7 separate regions of the Homo sapiens genome follow, and all the other regions are linked to region 4. The links are contacts of gene promoters, found by promoter capture Hi-C in blood cells and fetal thymus (Javierre and others, 2016). All regions are on one chromosome and are shown on one strand. The core of a region is centred on a gene start or on the middle of the fragment in contact, and the rest is flanking DNA. Distances in the headings are between cores, read along the strand shown. Region 1 has its middle 15 kb from the start of BETALINC1. Region 2 overlaps APMAP (adipocyte plasma membrane associated protein). Region 3 overlaps ACSS1 (acyl-CoA synthetase short chain family member 1). Region 4 holds the start of NXT1 (nuclear transport factor 2 like export factor 1). Region 5 overlaps ENTPD6 (ectonucleoside triphosphate diphosphohydrolase 6). Region 6 has its middle 7.7 kb from the start of VSX1. Region 7 overlaps PYGB (glycogen phosphorylase B).

Evidence for each region. Contacts are between HindIII fragments. The CHiCAGO score rates a contact against its expected background, and 5 or more counts as called.
Region 1: a contact is called between a fragment that was not itself captured here and the fragment with the promoter of NXT1 in region 4, in 1 of 17 cell types (activated CD4 T cells). The highest score is 6.1, in activated CD4 T cells.
Region 2: a fragment that was not itself captured here is called in contact with the fragment with the promoter of NXT1 in region 4 in 8 of 17 cell types (total B cells, activated CD4 T cells, naive CD4 T cells and 5 more); the score reaches 17.6 in total B cells.
Region 3: a fragment that was not itself captured here is called in contact with the fragment with the promoter of NXT1 in region 4 in 1 of 17 cell types (naive CD8 T cells); the score reaches 5.0 in naive CD8 T cells.
Region 5: a contact is called between a fragment that was not itself captured here and the fragment with the promoter of NXT1 in region 4, in 4 of 17 cell types (total B cells, naive B cells, total CD8 T cells and 1 more). The highest score is 9.8, in total B cells.
Region 6: a fragment that was not itself captured here is called in contact with the fragment with the promoter of NXT1 in region 4 in 3 of 17 cell types (non-activated CD4 T cells, total CD4 T cells and naive CD8 T cells); the score reaches 7.9 in non-activated CD4 T cells.
Region 7: a contact is called between a fragment that was not itself captured here and the fragment with the promoter of NXT1 in region 4, in 2 of 17 cell types (total CD8 T cells and total B cells). The highest score is 7.7, in total CD8 T cells.

What each region holds. Positions count from the first base shown.
Region 1 is chr20:21,543,495-21,546,194 of GRCh38, forward strand. No RefSeq gene overlaps it. Among named protein-coding and RNA genes, the nearest start is that of BETALINC1, 15 kb to the left of the region's middle. The HindIII fragment of the contact is 2,445 bases long and covers 62-2,506 here.
Region 2 is chr20:24,989,650-24,992,382 of GRCh38, forward strand. All of the region lies in intron 1 of APMAP (adipocyte plasma membrane associated protein), which reads right to left. Among named protein-coding and RNA genes, the nearest start is that of APMAP, 1.7 kb to the right of the region's middle. RefSeq lists enhancers at 2,655-2,733, 2,714-2,733. The HindIII fragment of the contact is 1,557 bases long and covers 503-2,059 here.
Region 3 is chr20:25,036,141-25,038,840 of GRCh38, forward strand. The region is part of intron 2 of ACSS1 (acyl-CoA synthetase short chain family member 1); the gene reads right to left. Among named protein-coding and RNA genes, the nearest start is that of ACSS1, 21 kb to the right of the region's middle. RefSeq lists a silencer at 253-547. The HindIII fragment of the contact is 2,700 bases long and covers 54-2,700 here.
Region 4 is chr20:23,349,352-23,352,051 of GRCh38, forward strand. It overlaps NXT1 (nuclear transport factor 2 like export factor 1), which reads left to right and starts at 1,440. Exons shown (of 2, transcript NM_013248.3): 1 at 1,440-1,710. NXT1-AS1 (NXT1 antisense RNA 1) reads right to left here and starts at 2,116. Exons shown (of 3, transcript XR_937384.2): 1 at 1,979-2,116. RefSeq lists enhancers at 441-1,313, 1,022-1,161, 1,081-1,375, 1,314-2,185, 2,242-2,291 and silencers at 732-861, 1,482-1,751. The HindIII fragment of the contact is 12,471 bases long and covers 1-2,700 here.
Region 5 is chr20:25,202,910-25,205,609 of GRCh38, forward strand. All of the region lies in intron 1 of ENTPD6 (ectonucleoside triphosphate diphosphohydrolase 6), which reads left to right. Among named protein-coding and RNA genes, the nearest start is that of ENTPD6, 8.5 kb to the left of the region's middle. The HindIII fragment of the contact is 254 bases long and covers 1,161-1,414 here.
Region 6 is chr20:25,088,498-25,091,197 of GRCh38, forward strand. No RefSeq gene overlaps it. Among named protein-coding and RNA genes, the nearest start is that of VSX1, 7.7 kb to the left of the region's middle. The HindIII fragment of the contact is 721 bases long and covers 1,042-1,762 here.
Region 7 is chr20:25,249,573-25,252,272 of GRCh38, forward strand. The region is part of intron 1 of PYGB (glycogen phosphorylase B); the gene reads left to right. Among named protein-coding and RNA genes, the nearest start is that of PYGB, 2.8 kb to the left of the region's middle. The HindIII fragment of the contact is 512 bases long and covers 1,006-1,517 here.

The sequences.
Region 1 (2,700 bases), core at 34-2,533, 1.8 Mb before region 4:
CTGTTAAAGGAGGTATTGCCCAGATTAACTGTCCCACAATTGTAACTGCTGAGCAGCAAAAAGCTTAGAGTGTAATTGCAATTGTATACGATAATTGCCTATACACATCTTCTCAAAGGAGCATGTCCAGTTTTTACAATTGTTTTTTTCCTCATTATGTTAGTTTTGATTATATTTACTGAAATGTATGTTCCCTCTGATTAACCTAAAAATAAAGTTTGGGCTTATATTTTTAAAATTTTATTTTTCTGATAATTTATTTTTGTTGTATTTTACAAAAGTGTGAATCTGAGGATGATAAAAAATTTAGAAAACCCTGGTTCTTACCCTCAGATAGTTTGCATAGTGCTATTATAGAAGATAAGAGAGTTAAATTAGGAAGCAATGTATACATGCTTCCCCCCTTATCATGGGGCTACCCCCCAGCAAACCCATTGTAAAGTTGAAAAGTCTTAAGTCCAATGATCATATATCAGAGACCATCTATACTGGATGGACTATCTGATGGATTGGAACAGGAGGGCAGTGGGGAGGGAGCCAGAACTCAGCCCCTGCTCCTATTCCCAAGCCCAGCTGTCTAGGACCTGGGCGTCCATTCAGAATAGGGATAACTGTTTATTCTCACAGACATGGGATTTGCTCAGCAAACCTGCATGGCTGTTCCCCAGCAGAGTGAGTGCTTTTTCCAAATCTTCCCAGAGAGATGGCTATCCATGGTCAAGCCATGAGCTGTCCAGCCAGAGGGGCAGCCATCTCCAGTTGGCATGGAGGCCCATAGATACTTGTGGCCATGTGAATCAGAGTCCTCATGGTCATCATAAGTGGGACATCAGAGAAAAAGATATTCAGAGTGTGTTAGGCTGTTCTTGCATTGATATATTTTATAATGAGCAATTATAGACTGGGTAACGTATACATAAAAGGTTTAATTGGCCCACAGTTCTGCAGGCTTTACAGGAAGCATGGTGATGGCATCTGCTTGGCTTCTAGGGAGGCCTCAGGAGGCTTACAATCATGGCAGAAGGCAAAGGGGGATAAGGCACTTCACATGGTGAGAGCAGGGGCAAGAGAGAGAGTAGGAGGGAGGTGCCACACACTGCTGAACAACAAGATCTCGGGAGAACTCACTCACTATCGTGAGAACAGCAACAAGGGGATGGTGCTAATCCATCGTCCAATCACCTCCTCCCAGGCCCTGCCTCCAGTACTGGGATTATAATTCAACATGAGATTTTGGCAGGGACAAATATCCAAACCATATCACAGAGTTAAATGTAAAGGCTTGCATTTGGAAAGCCATACCCAACAGCACAAGGTTGGAGGAGAGATGACATGGAAAAGAGGGGCTTTAGTTGACAGTAAGGTCAATATAGGTCAAGATGTCTCCCCCCACCAAATTAACTTAAAAAAAGAGAGAATGTGTTCTTAGATTCCGGTCATGGAAATTCATATCTGGAACAAAGGAAGTGAGAGTTCCACTGTATTCCACCCTGCTGAGAAAATGTATTCATCCACTCATCAATTATGAATGAGCTATCTCCTGGGGTGGATGCTAGGAATACAGAAATGAAGGATACGAGGCTAGCCCCGGGGATGCTGCTCTGTTTCTATTAATCAGAATTTGGTATTCCTTCGTGGGATACCTGCAGAGGGGTTCAGTTCTGATGTTACCCTTTCATGGGGATGTGGAAAATTAGAGTGAATCCCTGAGGACAGAACTGGGATGTGAAGGACTCAGATGATCACATATAGATGATATGTAAAGGAACGGACGATGTTTGATTTAGTGAATAAAAGAGAGGGGACTCTTGTTGCTTTTTTTATGTCCAACACTTATGACCAATCTGAAAGCCACTAGCCATATGGGACTATTTAAAGCTAATTAAAATACAATAAAATAAAAATTCAGTTTCTTAGTTGTAGTAGTCACATTCCCAATGATCAATTGCCGCAGGTGCCTAATACTGGAGGCACAGATGTGGAATATTTCCATCGTCACCGGAAGTTCTATTGGAAAGTGCTGGAAAAGGCTTCCATGTGGGAGATAATTTATTATCTCCATGCTTTATTTAGATGTGAGGGTTGAAATAATGATGATAGATCACTGAAAATTAGAGCAGAATAGATTTTAACTTTGTATTAGGAAAAACTTCTGAGCAGACATAGCTGTCCAGAGACGCCTGCAGGCAGTAAATCCCCTGTTACTCTAAGAATTCAGCTCAGGGTGGCCTGACTGAGATGCTCTGTATGATTGCTGGGGCTGGCCTTTCTCCCCTGGAGTATTCTCCGTGGTGTGGAAGATGTTCTTTATCACATGCCTTTTCTGTTCCAGGGGCTCAGCTCCATGCCTTCCCTGCACAATCACATTTATCGTTTCATTGCAATTCTGCAAGTCAGGTAATATTATCCCCCCTTTTACAGATAAGGAAACTGAGACTCAGCCAGATAAGTTGTTCAGGTTCCGGTAAGTGCAGTGATTCAATGGATCCAGGTTGTCAGATTCCAAAGCTTGTAACTGGGACAACTTAATTCTGATTTTTTAAAATTATGCTCAGTAAATATTAGTTGATTGAACAAATTGCCTCAAGCACATGTTAGTTTCTAAAAAAACAAACAGTTTTTTTGGGTGGCTTATATCTCAATGAAAGTAAAAATAAATTATGTACAGAAGAAAGGATATTAATAATAAAACATTAACAT
Region 2 (2,733 bases), core at 31-2,530, 1.6 Mb after region 4:
GTGACAGCATCTTGAATTTGTTCATTTTTCACAATCCTTTAAACTGGGGCTCCTAGATTCATCAATTTATCCTTGAAAAAAATTAAGAAATCAAGAAACAAGTTTAAAAAGCCATCTGAAAATACACACCTGGGGCAAAGCTGAGACAAACACTCCAGCTGCCTTACTCCTCATGAATTCGTGAATGCCCAATCTGTTTCTCCATACTTCCTCCCTTACTCTTCAGTCTCCAAGAGGAAAAAGGAAAATGGACCTAGCAGACTTTTAATTAAACTAAAATCCTTCAGAAGTTTATTGAAAAAGGAGAATTATACAGAATTTAATGTATTGAAACATATTAAATCCTCAATGTATTTATTCTGCATCCCTAAACAGTCACATATGGACATTAAACAGTTCTCTTCCTAGATAGAACTGTGTTTCAAACAGAAAGGAATAGTTCCACAGAGTACAATTAAGTTTCTAAAGCATTTCGGGAAATCAATGTCAAATAATAATTATAAGCTTGCACCGGTATGTTAAAGTACTTAGCTCATCTATGTTCCACACTGAATAAAAGAATTTACCAACCAAATTCTCCATTATATTTCAAATACAGTAATTCAAGAGCTTTGGCATAAAGTCTTATTTCCAAAGCATAATTTTAAAAATACACTTCTCAGTCATTGTCCAGCTGCCAGTTCTATCCTTCTTCATTCATTTTCATTTCTCTTTTGACTCTATTCTCTGTAACTTCATATAAACCACCTCACACACATAGACCTCAATGATCTCATCAGCAAAACAAAGCAAACACCCACCTTTTGTGCCAAGAGTTGGGAGACCACCCAACGTATTACTAGGGGTCCCTACCACTGCTAAAATCTATGTCTTAGTTCTGTCAGTTTAGTAATATGTCTTTCAAGGCTTCCTTTATTCTATTTAGCACATCTAAAGTGCTAAAGTTTATTCTAATAGTTTCGTGTTTTTACTTCTGAATTTAGATTCCTTTACTTCGCCCACTATACACAGGCTTTCCTGGCTTATGTTGAACCCTCGACTTTTAAGGTAATCAAGAATACTATTACATGAACTACTAGAAATGACCACAAAATAAATGAAAAATATAGGAGAAATGCAGAAGAAAAATAAGAAAAACAGCTACCATGTTACAATAATAATTGCGGAAAGGAAGGGTGGTGACAAGACCTCACTTTGAAAGAGATCATTACAGATATACAGAAAAGGGATAAACAAACAAGAAGGACAAACACAGGGAAACAGGAACAATGTTCATGGACAGGGAAGTCAAGGAAATAAGTAAACATAAATGTAAAAGGCACACTGGAAAAGATCAGGCAGTAAAAGATGACTTTAGAATCAGATTTACTTACTCATTAAGGAAGAAATCCCCACAGAGAACCTGAAAAAAACAATTAAGTCTGCCTGCTTGCCCTGGGGCCAGAAGTGTGAGCCAGCCAACTTGAGAGTTGGGACTACCTAACCGGTGCCCTCAGGGGCTGTAGGCCCTGGTTTTCAACACACTGCACCTAATGACAAACTCAGGCCACTGCTCTTCCATTTCTCAGGTAAAAATGCCTTGTTTTCAAGATTTCTGTAGGAAAGTGTTGCCAATTCTTGCATGTCCATTCTAAATGGCTCCTCAATCATCAACAGATGATTAATTCACAATATTCACAGTAAGTAGGGTGATCAGATTGTCCCAGTTTGCCCAGGTTTAGCACTGAAAGTTCTACATCCTTGGAAACCCCAGTCCAGGGCAACGCAGGATGGTTGGTCAGGATATATGGGAGCATCTTCCCGATCTTTTCACTGGCCCAAGGAGTCAACTATCACCGCAAAGTCTTCTCTCTAAATTGCCTCTCTAGAGCCTAAATGCTCCTTCCTGCCATCGCTCTCCTTCAAATGTGTTCCTCTTATCATCAGTCAATAAACTCAGTCTACAGGGGCAAAAACTGCCTCTCATTCATATGTACCCCACCACCTCTTGGCACACTACTGATGAACAAATATTTCCAGTATTTCTATCAAATATAAGTCAATCAGTCCCACAACTTCAAGCTTGGTCTATGGGGCCTCTTGATTCTCCCTGAAACTTAAAAGTTATGAAATTCAGGACACAGAATTGAAAAGTGAATTTTAAGTATCTTATATTGAAATCTATGCTTACGAATCATGATTCAGTTTTTAGCTAACAAAACACAGCATTCTTATATTCTGAAAGATGGGAGAGGAGGCAAAGGGCAAAACCTGATATTTCTTAGGTGTCAACAACTACAGTTTCCTATGTTTCTCCATCCCTATCAGGAAAAACTGCCAGGCTGAATTCTCACAAAAATTGCCTACAATGTCACTACTGTTCTCCACTCTTTCCAAGAACCGCGGTGAGGACTGGTCACGCAGCGTGAGGGGGGCAGGTGCAGAAGAGCAAGTGTAGAAGCCATCTCTTCGCCGGATAACGAGGCAGGACCCCAGCATCTCGTGGGACCTCCTCCCTTCGGGAAATTGCGAGCGGGGAACCAGGAACACGCAGGGCCCCGGCCAAGTAGCTGTGCTCAGGGGGATCATTTAAGCCAAAGGAAGGACAGCGCGAGGGGAGCGAGGGAAAGGCGAGGAAGCAACCGCTATGCAGGGTGGGGCAGGAGTGAGGGAGGGAAGGCAAAGGAGCGGCGCGAGGCGGTCTCGGGTCCGGAGAGCCGAGGACAACGCGGCGACTGGGCGCAGGGTGCACCC
Region 3 (2,700 bases), core at 154-2,653, 1.7 Mb after region 4:
TCAGGTACTGAGCAGGATATTTAGGTTTGTCTGCAGTGTACTCTGCCGGGTCAAGCTTTTGGTGCAGACGTATGCAAATGATGTGCACAAAAATACAAATGTGGCCTTGTGTTCCTGGTGCTTAACACTAGGAAAACGCTGACTGGCCTTGGGGAAGGAAGAAGACTTATTACCAACTCTTAACATCAATTGGGAATAACTTTTATCCAATGCTAAAGATACAATCTGACTGCAAGTAATTGTGACCAACACGATAACTGCCTGAACTCAGACGGTACAACTGCACCCCTGCCCCCCACCCCCCGCCTCAGAATTTAAAATTAGTCCAAAACAGGAAACAGCTGGAAACAGAGTTCAGAGAAAAGAGAGGAAGAAATACACTGGTATTTATTTTTTCATCTGTCTTTCAATCAGAGCTAGTTTTGTCACGGTTAATATTGAAAGTGTCTTTTCCTCCTAGACATTTCCTGATGAAGGCCCAGGATAAGTAAGTCCTGTGTGTGCTCTCGTGTTTAAGAAATAAACAAATTAAGGCTGGGCATAGTGGCTCACAGCTGTAATCCCAGCATTTTGGGAGGCTGAGGCAGGCAGATCACTTGAGGTCAGGAGTTTAAGACCAGCCTGGCCAACCATAGCAAAACCCTGTGTCTACTAAAAATACAGAAATTAGCCAGGCGTGGTGCTGCATGTCTGAATCCCAGCTACTTGGGAGGCTAAGGCAGGAGAATCGCTTGAACCCAGGAGGTGGAGATTGCAGTGAACTGAGATCCCATCACTGCACTGCAGCCTGGGTGACAGAGCTAGACTCTGTCAAAAAAAAAAAAAGAAGAAGAAGAAAGAAAGAAAAAGAAAGAAAGAAGAAAGAAAGGAAGGAAGGAAGGAAGGAAGGAAAGAAAGAAAGAGGGAAAGAAAGAAATTGAGAATGCATGATTGTTTATTGCTTACAATTATTCTGGCAGTCAGTATTCATGAAATAAACATTAGCTAACAGACTTCTTTGTTGTCCATCAAGTACAAGGTCTGCTTGGGTAGAGATCTGGGTTTTGCTTATTGCCTTCCTCCTGGCATCCACCTAGCTCATATAAGGTACTCAATAAATATTTGTTGAGCAAATGGGCGCAGCAGGTGAGCATGAAGTGGGAAGGACCTCCACCAAGAGCGACACCCACCCTGCAGACACCCTGTGTCCTCCTTCCCCTGAGGGGCTAGGCTGCTGTCACCTTGCATCACGCTGGCATGAAGATGTGCTGCTGCTCTGAGAAGCAAATGGGAAGGACCCCCTCTGAGAAACCAGCCTACAGAAACGTTTCATTTTCTTCTGCCAATAAGGGAAGTAAACCCAGGTAATTGTCTTGATATGTGAAGGCCTCTGACAGACACAAAGCATTTCCTCAGGCTCAGTCACTTCTCTCCAAGCACCGGTGCTGATGGGGGCTGGGGAAGGCCAACTCCATGGTCTAGATCCAAAACTTGAAAGGACATTCCTATGCTGTCTCTAGAATTTGATATTTTCTTCAGCATGCTGTGTCAGGAACATATTCGTAGTAAGAGAAGAAAGGATCAGCCTTAGGGAAGGGAAGCCTGGCGAGGCTGACCCCTTCTCACGCAGGAGGAGCGTGGAAGGCCACGCAAAGCATGGATGGCCAGCTCGCATCTCATGGACCCAGGCCTGGGGAACAGACTCCTTCCCTCCTGGCAGCCTCCTCTGGCCCTGACATTACTGTAGCCACTGACTGTCATTCAATGGTGGTAAGATTTGCTCACTCTGCTGAGAGAACAGAAGACCAGGAAGTCAGCTAGCAGGGCTCATAAACCAAGTATGAAATTTCTCACGTCATTATTTGATGTCATGACCATGACATTTAGCAAAGAGAAGCTGCCGTGAAAACATAAAGTGGCAGCCGCACTTGAACATGAATGGTCCCCTGGGCCAAGGCGGGCCCAGGCACAGCGAGGGCCCCCAGGAGACATGAGCTGAGTTGCTAGTAGTGATGCCAGCTCAGCCAGTAACAAGATCACTAAAGCTATGTGTGTTCTAAATTCCTTATGGAAAGTGAAAGTCTCTTCCCTGAGGTTTTGCTAGACTCTGTGGAAAGCGCTGAACCTGCAAGTTTATCACTCAGGAGTCTCACGGGAGGCCAAACAATGACTGATCAGAGAGCAGGGTTCCCAACACAGCCCCCCACACCACTGGGGCCTGAACTGTCTCATCTGTGAAATGGCCTAATAATAGGACCCACTACCAAGGTGGTCGTGGAGACCAAATATGAAGTTGCAGGCACCTTTGAAGGTGACCTGTAAACAGTGGCCATAATGACTGCAGAAAATACAAGACATGGGAAAAAGAGAATTATTGAACACTGATGGACCTTTAAGAAAGGTGGGCACCTCAGGCACCTCCTTCTCAGGAGGGCAGGTGCAAAATGCTGGTTTGCCTTATGGAAGCTGCAGTCTCCGTGTCGCCGGCTCAGGGCACATGCACCTCAGCTGTGTGAATGCCTTGCAGGAAGCCCTCACCTGCACAGCCTGCCTGCTCCATGCCCCCAAGGCAGGTGCTGAGGGCGGGAGTAGATCTGAGAAGGATGCAGAGCCTCCTACAGTTGGGGTTGCTGCCAGTCTGGGGGTTCCAGGCACTCAGCCCGAGGCCTGTGCTTCCAAAAGGCCAGAGGGAAGGCAGTTCCACCCCACATGCTCTGCACA
Region 4 (2,700 bases), core at 190-2,689:
TAATGGTACCTCCCCCAATAAGTTATGTGAAACAAATTAAAGGGGCTTATTATACAGGAAACAAAAGCAGCACAGCATCCAAACTACTGAGCGTGCAGTAAATCAACGCATTCCCACTTCCATTCCATCCACGCTGATTTAGATCAATCCAAGTATCACTGCCTTGGGGTTCAAAAGGCCATGTTAGTTCACAAAGCCCCGAAAATGCTCTTTCACACTCTCTGCTCAGCCTCCAACGTGTCTTTTTAATAATCCAAACTTTCCACCTACTTAACTGAAGTGTGTGGGGGGAGAGGGTGCGGGGGGGAAGGGGTGGCCTATACTAAATAGCCCAACTGTTTTCCACTTGTCCTGAAATCTGAGACCAAGATTCTCTTAGGAATGCAAGCAAAGGGAGCCGACGGGACGCCAAGAAAGCACAGGTTAAACTACCTCACTTCATCTAGCCCCATTTCTCTCCTGGCTTTTCAATTAATTATTCAGCCTCAGACCAGCAGATGGAGCTGAAAATGTTGTCTAAAGAAATGAGGTTTTTCTTTTAATTTACAAGCTATAGTTTCTCATGCCTCCACACTGAATGGTTACATCCTGTTGAGCCTGTTCGTAAAGTTCAGTAAAAATCCAGTTCTCATTCCAGAACAGCTGAATCGTAGCTATGAACGCGGAAGAACAGAGTCCCAACCCCAGCCGGGCCCGGGTTTCCCGGGGCCCCTCAAGCCTCAGGGCAGTGGAGAGCCGCCGTCACGCCCCCGCCTCCCCCACGTCCCACCCTCGCCCCAGTCTCCTCCCACTTTTAGCTACTTTTCCCATCTGACTAAAACTGGCTTCCTCCGTGTCCACCAAGATGTCGCCTCTAAGTGGCCTAACTCCTAAAGAGCGCGATCGGCTCAAGCACTCCGCCACGCGGTTTCCACGGGGCGCGGCCGGCGTTGCCCTCGCCGTGGCCTCAAGCATTGCGGCGCCCCACATGTTGCCAGACGGAAGGCCTCGGCGGGGTCAGGCAGCTGCTGCTGGCCGTGACTACATCACTGGTGACGTTTCACGAGACTTTTAACTGAAATCACTCCAATACAGGCGCATGCGGGACGAGGGGAAAGCATCTCACCCGACCCCACACACCTTCCCCTCCCTCTCCAGCCTAGCGGCCTCCGCTCAGCGGAAAAAAAAGCAGACGCTACTCCCCGCTCTAGGTGCGGGACCTAAGAGGTTTGGCCCAATCAGGCATCCCACCTAACCAGACGGGCCGGAGTCTGTGGCCCGGTTGGACCAACGAAAACTCTAGGGCGGATTTGCCGGGATTTCTGGGAAAGTGACACTCCCGGAAGCTACCGCCTCTTATAAGCCACACATGGGCGGAGTTAGCCTTCCGGCCCGCAGTCCCACTGGCTGACTTCGCTGCCCGTCACGGGAATGCGGGAGAGGGCGGCGCCGGGGCGCTCGCGTCTGCGTGGAGACCGGCTGGCCGCGCGCGGGAAGCCGCGGAACTGCGCCGGAAAGTCCCCCGGCTCTGGGGCCCCGGTGACCCAGAGTAAGCCTCCAAGAAGGAGGAGGAGGAGAGAAAGGCGGCTCTTCCCGTGCCCCTACCAGAGGCTTCGGTGGGCCCACCTTGTGACCTCCGCGGCCGGCCCCTCAGTGGAACTGCGTCCCACGCGGGGGGCGTCCCGACCGTGGGGGCCGCGGCCCGCGCTGACCCTGGACGTCGCCGCGCAGGTACGTTGCCGTCCCCCGGCGGTCTGACCCCCGAGACAGCCCCTAGTGCATACCCCACGCCCTCCTCCATTGTCGAGAATGAGACACGGCTGTGCCTTTGTCCACGTGGTAGAGTTGCCGCCGCGGTGAGGCTCTCGCCTGTGCAAAAAGCGTGGCAGCGAATTCTCATCAACGAGGGGAGGCGCGTCCCCTCACAGCGCAGCTCTCGGGTCTGAGGAGGGCCGGGCAGGGCGTGCGTCTGTCTAGGTTTGAATTAAAGGCGACTCACAGGAAATAAGGCCATGCCACTGTGGTAGCTTTTCCCGTCCATCTCCGGACACTCGACGGTGTGGGTCGTGCGAGGAGGCGGCAGTCTTCACAGCCTCTTACTCTAGTCCTCACGGTCAGGTTCTTTTTCTGATTTGACACAGACAGCGGGACTGACGACCTCATAGGTAGCTGAAAACCGTAAGTGGAGATGGTCCTTCTATGGTGTGTGGGGGCGTGGCCAGTTGTTAGATTGTGTTTGGAAAGACAGCCAGGGGCGGAGAAGAGGGGCATTTCTGAGATGATGGGGGGACTGGTGCCATGGAGGGAGGAGGAGTGAGGTGGAGATCGGGAATTCCAGCCAAAGAGAAATGGGGTCCCTGGGAGAAAATTCCCACTCTAGCAGTCCTGGAGTTGTGCTCATGGAGACTTGCTTACGCGAGTACAAGGACAGCGTTGTATTGACAAAATTTCAGCCCTCAGTCTAGTCTTGTAAACGATAGATCAGGAGTGTACTTAACCGTCGTTACTTTGATCCAGCCCTAGGTTTCCCTTTTCTCATTTGTAAAATTGTTATAGTAATACCTTTTTCATCCATTTGTGGTAACATTTAAATGAGGTAATTTGTGTGAAGCCCTTAGCAAACACAGCGCTTCTTAGTCGTGGGTTCCGCGTGGGGTGGATTCAACCAACCTCAAATCAAAAATATTCTTCAGAAAAAGAAAAATGCGTTTGTACTGAACA
Region 5 (2,700 bases), core at 38-2,537, 1.9 Mb after region 4:
TTTTGTTTTAACTTTCAGGACTCCCTTTAGTAGTCTGGTAGGGCAGATCTAGTGGCAATGAACACGCACATCTTTTATTAATCTGGAAGTGTCTTAATTTCTCCCTCATTTGTGAAGGACAGTTTTGCTGAATGTAGAATTCTCTGTTGACAGATTTTTTTGTTTGTTTGTTTTAGCAGTTTGGGGGTATCTTCCCACTGCCTCTGGCCTCTGAGGTTTCTGCTAAGACATTGGCTAACAGTGTTATTGAGGATTCTTTGTACATCATGAGCCATTCTTTTGCTGCTTTCAATATTCTGCCTTTGTCTTTACACAGTTTGATTATATTGTGTCTTCATGTTGGTCTCTTTGGGTTTATCTTACGTGGGGTTTACTGAGCTTCTTGGATGTTTATATTCATGTCTTTAGTCAAATTTGGGAGGTTTTTAGCTATTCTTTCTTCACATAATTTCTCTGCCCCATTCTCTCTTCTCTTTCTTAGATTTCCATAATGTGCATGGTGCACGTGAGGGAGGCCCCTAAGTCCCTGAGGCTCTGCTCACTTTCCTCATTCTTTTTGTTCCTCTGACTTGATATTTTCAAATGTGCTATGTTGAAGTTTGCTGATTCTTCTACCGACTCAAATCCCTCTGGTCAGAGTTTTCAGTTCAGTTTTGTATTTCTCAGCTCCACAATTTCTGTTTGATTCCTTTTTATAATTTCTCATTTTGTTGTCATATGTTATTTTCTTGATTTCTTTTCATTCTTTATCTGTTTTCCTTCAGCTCTTTTAGCATATTTAAGACAGTCATTTTTAGTCTTGGTCAAGTACATCCAGTGCCTGCATTTCTTCAGGGATGGGTTCTGCCACTTCATTTTCTTCCTCTGAATGAGCTGTGTTTTCCTGTTTCTTTGTATGCCGTGTGATTTTTTTGCTGAACATTGGGCATTTGAAAAACAGCTCCTTGTCCCAGTCTTTGAAGACTAACTCTGTATTGGGAATGGCCCCCACCAAATAGCAGGATCTGCCTAAGTGTGGGGATCAGCTCTGGATGAAGGCCAAAGTTTCCTCTGGTTTCTTCTGAGGATGCATCTTCCCTGGGCCTGTGTATGTGTTTTTTTCAATTTCCCCATATTCGTGGCTGTTTCAAAATCTCTTACTTTCATTATGAATACTTTCAAGCTTCCCTTTGGAATATACCAAGAAATGCATTTGGAGTAACCTTTGTTTTTCTATCATTGTAAATTTAGATTCTGGAATTGGGGTTTGGTGGTGTGATGTGTTGCTCACATGTGGCCAGAACTCCTGCTCCTAAAAGGACTTTGAGATCAAGGAACACATATTTAATCTCCCCTTTATGCCTTGGTTTTAGTTCCTCTTTCCAAGTTGAATAACCAATTTTTCATTGCTGTTTGGTTTAAGTTGGTGCTTTGAAGCTTAATCTCAGTACCCTTAACTCTGAATTATCGAATTTTGATAAAAATGTGTGCCCTTATTTTTTGGTAAGAGAAAGCAGGTCTTAATGTCTGCCGGAACACAATTTATTTGCCTTGTTGGCTCCATTAAACTTTTACAAAGCTTTATATATATATATATATATCTTACTTTCTCAAAGTCTCCCCCAGTCCCTCCTTGGGCCTCAGATGTTCTACTGTATTTCTCACCTGTCATTCTTGCCCCAGGTATGCGTGGGGCTATAGTCATCCTACAGCTTTGCCTAGCAGTGCCCATAACCATTTCCCTGACTTCCTATCTGGGCTCTGAGCTCAGAGTCAGGTGAAACAGAGATCTGTTCCTCAGGCAGCCCAAGACAGATTAGGATGTTGCAGAAAGGTCCGCTCTGCTCCCTCCAGTTCAAGGGAAGGAATTGGGAACCGGGCTGCCGCATTCATCAGGTGGTGCCATGCTGGGGAGGCCTGGGGCAGGGGTGAGTGAAACACCTCAGAGTTCCTGACATCCTGAATGTGGCTGCTTCTGGGCTGGGCATTCTCTTGGTTGCTGTAGATCGTTGCCTGTTTTGCAGAGCTCCTATGCAATATTTTAACCAGTCTCTAGTTGTTTTTAGTGTTTCTCTGTGGGGGAACAAGGGCCTTTGAGCTTCCTCTTTTGCCGTCTTGCTGTGTCCTCTCCCTGTTTATGGATTTTCTACAGGACTCTGTTGTGTGTCTGGTGACGTTATAGAAGGTGCGGGGGTAGAGGAGCAGCCTCTTCCATTCTAGAGAAGGGCTTGGATGCCATGCTGGGCAGCAGCAGCACAAGACAAGCTGAGTCCCTGCCCTGGGGGCTCATGGCCTAGTGGGGAGACACAGACCTACAGGAATCAGGTCTATGAATACTGGTTTCATCACTGCTGGTGGTGGGTAAAGGGAGCTCAGAGAGTGCGTGATGGGGCATGTGCAGGTTGGGGGCATCCGGGAAGGGGGTGGCAGTGACATTTCAGTGGAGGTTTCAGAATGAAGACACGGTGCCAGTGTGGTGGGACAAGTATTCTGGGAATGCGTATCAGTCTGTGCCAGGGGCCTGAGGCAGGGAGAGGCTGAGTTCTAGGGGCAGAAGAAGGCACTGTTCTCAGAGCACTGTGGGCAAGGACGAAAGAGGAGTGCGATGAAGCCACAGGGGCCAGCAGGGACAGGGGCCGGCAGGGACAGGCCCAGGCAGAGGCTGCAACATGATCCTGAGAGCTGTGGGAAGCCCCCGAGTGTGGTGGGACCCAGGCCCAG
Region 6 (2,700 bases), core at 152-2,651, 1.7 Mb after region 4:
GGCTCTCGGGGAGTTGGGAGCATCCCACAAGAACCAGGCAGATGCTGCACAGCCTTTGCTGGCCCTTCCACAGAAGTCAGAGCATTACTTCCATCACGTTCAGTCAGCGAGGCCATAGCATGAGTTTTGGGGGAGTGGCACTTCTGCTTTCATGGGCCCCTTCTTCCATAAAAATATTTAAAGTTGTATTTTGTGCCTATGTTGGCATAAAGGTGAATATAATCCAGTCTAGATTCATTATTGTATATTCTTTATTATTGTACTCATTTTTCCTTCTGATTTTAAAATATATTCAATGGCATTAGAAGCATAGGCCCTGGGCATTGTACCCAAGGCATTAGTGTGCACTGGCCCTGCTGACTGGTTTAAGCAGCCACAAGCCACCAGATTCAAGGACAGGACACAGATTCAAGGTGGGACACAGGACCCACCACATCGCACTTGCAGGGCCAGGCGCCAAGCAGTGCTCAGCCACCCATCAACGCCCAGCCCAAATGGTTCCTCACCGCAGAGCCTCCCCAGGTTTTCCTGCCCCAGCTGGAACAAAATCACTGCTGCACTCTTGAAGCACTTGATGCTCCTTTGGTCTTATTTTCTTATTCTTAAGTTCTTTTGTGTCTGTTCTCATCTCCTACCTGGCTCCAGGAGCCCAGAACTGAGTCTTTTCATTAACACATCCCCTGGACAAATGTTCTTTACCTTCCAGGACAGTGACTTCCCTGGTGGCCTCTGGAAGAGGCCTCCTTACTATGTGCCAGTGGTTCTCAAAGTGTGGTTCCCAAAAGTGGTTCTGGCCACCTGGGCATTGGCCAGAAAAACAAACTCTTGGACCCCATCCAGACCTCCAACATCAGAGACCTTGGGGAGACCCATGATCTGTGTGTTCACAAGCCCCCCAGAGGACCCTGAGCCCCACTCAAGTTTGAGAACCACATCTTCTATTAATGCTTCATGAACCATATATCCTGACTGGTTTTACAAATATGTTGTGGGTGCAGAAACACCCAGTTATTCTCAAATGCTCTGAGGAGCTATGAGGAAAGCTTGAGTTCAGCACTAAGATAATAGTCAGCACCAGACATGAGCTTAGGGAATCAGGAAATTGAGGTTCTAAAAGGAGAAGGAAAAAAGAAAAGAGAAAATTTTATTTTAAAATGTTACATATCAAAAAATACATTAGTGGGAAAACTCACAGCCACCATCGGTGGGGCCCTTGGTCTGCGCCAGGCACTGCAGAGCTTCTCACGAACCCATTCACTTACCACTTGTGACAGCTCTGATGAGGGAGGTCCTGTATCGTCCCCATTCTGTGGGTGAGAAAACGGAGGCCCAGAGCTGGGACCAGCCCAACAGCCAGGGGAGCGGTCAGGACCCAAATCCTGACGGTCAGGCTAGAAGCAGCGAAATCTCCACGGGGCCTGGTCTGTGGCTTAACCTTGGTTTTGTTCTTCATGTTGCAGCGCTTGGGATCTGGCGAGGTCTGACTCTTACACTGTTCCAACTGCTGTAGACGGATGGCATTATGGGCTTGAGGCAGATTTCCCAGAGGCTCACATGCCCCATGGCCGGTCTTTTCCCTTTAGGTCCTGAGACAATAGGAAAATCCTGGGTAGGAATCCAGGTAACACTTTGATTCCAAAGAACATACTTCTCTTCCTCCTTTTCCAGCCTCTTCACTGTCTCTCTCCTCTCCTCTCTTCTCTTCCTTAGCTTCTTCTGGTTAAGTTCCATCTGTAAGACAAAGGAACCCAGAGCCAAGTTAAGCTTAGGAGAGGACACACCATCCAGTCCCTGAGCTAAGCCCACCCTCGGACCCCACTGCAGAAAAGGTCATGAGCAGAGGGCACAGAAGGATCTGCCTCTCCTCCTCTCCCCCATGGCAGACAAAAGCAGGTGCACTGTGTGGACATCAAGAAGGTGAGAGGGAGGTGACATAGGCCACCCTAACCAGAAGGTCACACCTGGGCATGTGAGGGGCCGCTGAAGGACAGCCCAAGAGCTGCTGCTGAGCTTCATTTCTGGTATTAAACAAGCACTAGGTCATCTCTTGGCAATTGAGAAACCTGGCCAATGATAATGTGCTTTTAACCAGCTCATATTAGAAGTGAATGTGATCACTATCCCAGCTCACAGGTAGCACCGAGGCTCTAGGCAAAGGTCAGAACAACTCTGCCAGGGTGGCGTGACTGCGGGTTCCTGCCTCTGCTTGCTGGGGACCTACTTACTCCAAGGAGGCAGGCACCGGCCATGACCCTATTTGAAGGAGGTCTTTGCTCCTCCCTCTGTGCTCAACTCCCAGTCAGCTCCCTCCAAGGCATCCGCCACAATTGCAACCGTTCACTCACCTGCTGGTTTACTGCTTTACCCATCTGCCTTGCCGGATGCTGTAGCTGACAGTGCTGGCAGGCTGCCCTCCGGGTCGCCTGCAGCCTCTGTAGACAGTTCACACACACACCACAGCTTCCTGCCTGCAGCACCTGCCACTCGAGCGGAGGATGCCCCAAAGCCAGGAGTGCACCAGCTAGGACTGAAGTCCTGGGGGGCAGAGGGTGATGCCTCCAGCAGCCACTCTTGACAGATGACAGGGGTTGATGGATGATACCTGGCCAAGGGGTGCAATGATCCTGTGGTAGGAAAATCCCGAAGAGAAATCACCTTGCATAGTCACCCGAGGTCCTGGTGTGATTGAGCCTTGGGAAA
Region 7 (2,700 bases), core at 12-2,511, 1.9 Mb after region 4:
AAGATATGTTTAATACGGTAATTGCTAAGAGATTGACTGCTTTTCCAAACTTATTCTGGGACATTCTTTTTTCTAAAATGGAGATGGTAAAAGGGACAGATTTGTTAGAATACCAACTGGGGCTCTTCATATTTGGTATGCAAAACATAGAAGTGGCAACGAATGGCCAAAACAGGTTATAACAAGGGCTTGGGATGACTTTGCCAGGAAAAGCAGCCAAGAAGCAGTGGCTCCCCCAGAATTCCCTGCTGTTGGGAGAGTTCTGATGCACAGCACCATTTTTTTTTTTTTTTTAATTCTGAGTCTTGCCCTGTAGCGTGAAGCTAGAGTGCAGTGGCGCGATCTCGGCTCAGTGCAACCTCCGCCTCCCGGGTTCAAGCAATTCTCCTGCCTTAGCCTCCCAAGTAGCTGGGATTACAGGCGCCTACCACCACGCCCGGCTAATTTTTTGTATCTTTAGTAGAGACGGGGTTTCACCATGTTGGCCAGGCTGGTCTCAAACTCCTGACCTCGTGATCCGCCCGCCTCGGCCTCCCAAAGTGCAGGAGTTACAGGCGTGAGCCAACGCACCCGACCCGCAACATCATTTTTATTGTCTAAGTGGCGGATGGCAAGGACATAGCTCTGCCTTCACATTCAAGGGCATTTCCTTGGAGCTGGACCAGGACTCAGCTCTACACCTTAGGGTGCCCATTGGAGTATTTATGTATAATCACATCCTGGAGAGGCCAGCGATGGGCTCAGGGATTACGGAAATGACCTTCATGAACAAGATAGTCCCTGCAACAAAACAGGTTTTTTGATCCTCCGTGAGATCTCTTTTGATTGTCTACGTGTGGTGGCTCTGGGTGGAAACCTTTCTCTTAAACCGCACAGTCTGTAAGTCGTAAAGTTGTAAACTTTTAGATCTCACAGTGTGTAAATAAGCTGTGTGCCTATTCTGAATAGGAAGGACATGGAAAATTGGGATTTAACTGCTTCTTTCGCTAATTCATGATGAAAATAAGCTTGCAATCCTTTCTTTGGAAAAGTTACATGCTTGCTGGTGATGGACCAGCAACCAGTCCCACCAGAGCCAATGAGAGGAGGTGTGCTCCCAAGAAAATAACTGCTGTGCCTCCCCCTCAGCCAGAAATGACCTCAGACATTCACCGGCACACTGCAGACTGTGGTAATGTGACACTCTAGAGCTCCTAAATAGAACGCTTTTATTGTTATTTTTGTCTTTTTTTAAATTATGCAAGTCCTGAAGGAAAAATTATTACTGGAGGAAAAATTAGAAAATATAGATAAGCCAGAAGGAAAAAAATTAACTGTAATCCTGTAACCCACTTCTATCGCCCACTTTGTGCTGTAAATATTTTGTGTTCTACATTGTTTTTTCCGTATTGGCAGAAACTTGTTTTTAATACATAAAATAACATTATACTGAACCTATTGTTTCATAACTCTTAGCACTTTATTTGTGGTACATAGCGAAAGAGTAGAAGTTGGGGTGTTCAGAGGAAGATTTGTCAAGCTTTGCCATGCTTGGCAAATCAGCACGTCAAAACATCTGGCTAACATGGAGAGCTTTGTGCTTGGCAAGAGGTGGCGGTTGGTCATGAAGACATTTAATGGATTCTCTGAAGTGGTGGCAAGGTGGCAAGGAGAGTCCAACCTGAAGCTGCAGAGCCTGGGATTGCGCTGCATGGAGAAGAAAGGGTGTGCGTGATTCCACGCTCCTTTTCATCCTGGCCTTTCCATTCGGTCTGTGCAACTGTGGGCTTGGGCGGATTTCTTTGCCATTATTGGCCTCAGTTTTCTCATCTTTAAAATGAGGGGAATCAAGCTGGTGATGTTTCCGAAGTCTGTTGCCATTCTGAAATGTTAGAGTTAAAATGTTTCTATTTCATATTGAATTGACATTCCATCTCTATCCAGAGAGAATTTGAGGATGCTTATGCTAGATACAGCACAAAAGGTTCACATTAGAAGGCCTCAGAGTGAGGGTTGGGGTGGGACAGTGAGGGTCAGGACACAAAACACAGACCAGGATCCTGGCAGTGAAAGCAGCCCATGCCCAGTTATGAGAGTCACGGGATCCCTTCTATAACATCCTGAAAGGACAGTTGCACGGTTTATTCTGTGGGCCTTTGTGAAGCTGTGTTGTCGATGTGCTGAGCCACTGACCTGCAGCACCCCTGCAGTGGATGTAACAATCAGTTTTTGAGACTCTTCCCATAAGCTCCTGGCATGACTACAACACAGATTAAGGAAAAGCAGCTCTACCTTGGGGCCCACACTGCTGTCCTAAATATTCCTAATGAGATAAACACAATGAAATACGATTAATCTTTTGGTTTGGCTGGACCCAGGAGTTAAAGAAGATGATCTAGAGAAGTGTTTTGCAGACCCTTCTGCTCTGTGATCCCCACTTCTGGGATTTGTTTTAATTAGTCAGTTGTGGTACCAGCCTCCGGAATCCTAACACTCCCAATTTTTCTGATGTATTTCCACTTTTATGTGTGAAGTTGAGCTTGCATCTCCTGGGCAGGCTTCCCTGACAGCAGATCGCTCAAAGTCATTTTCTCTGACCAGTAGCTGATGGTGGGTGCTGTTTTGTGTTGCTGACAGCTAGCCACTTGGAAGGTAGGCCTCAGCTGTCATTTTAGCAGATGGAGAAGCCTACAGTGTGTGCCTTCATTTTCTGCAGAAGAC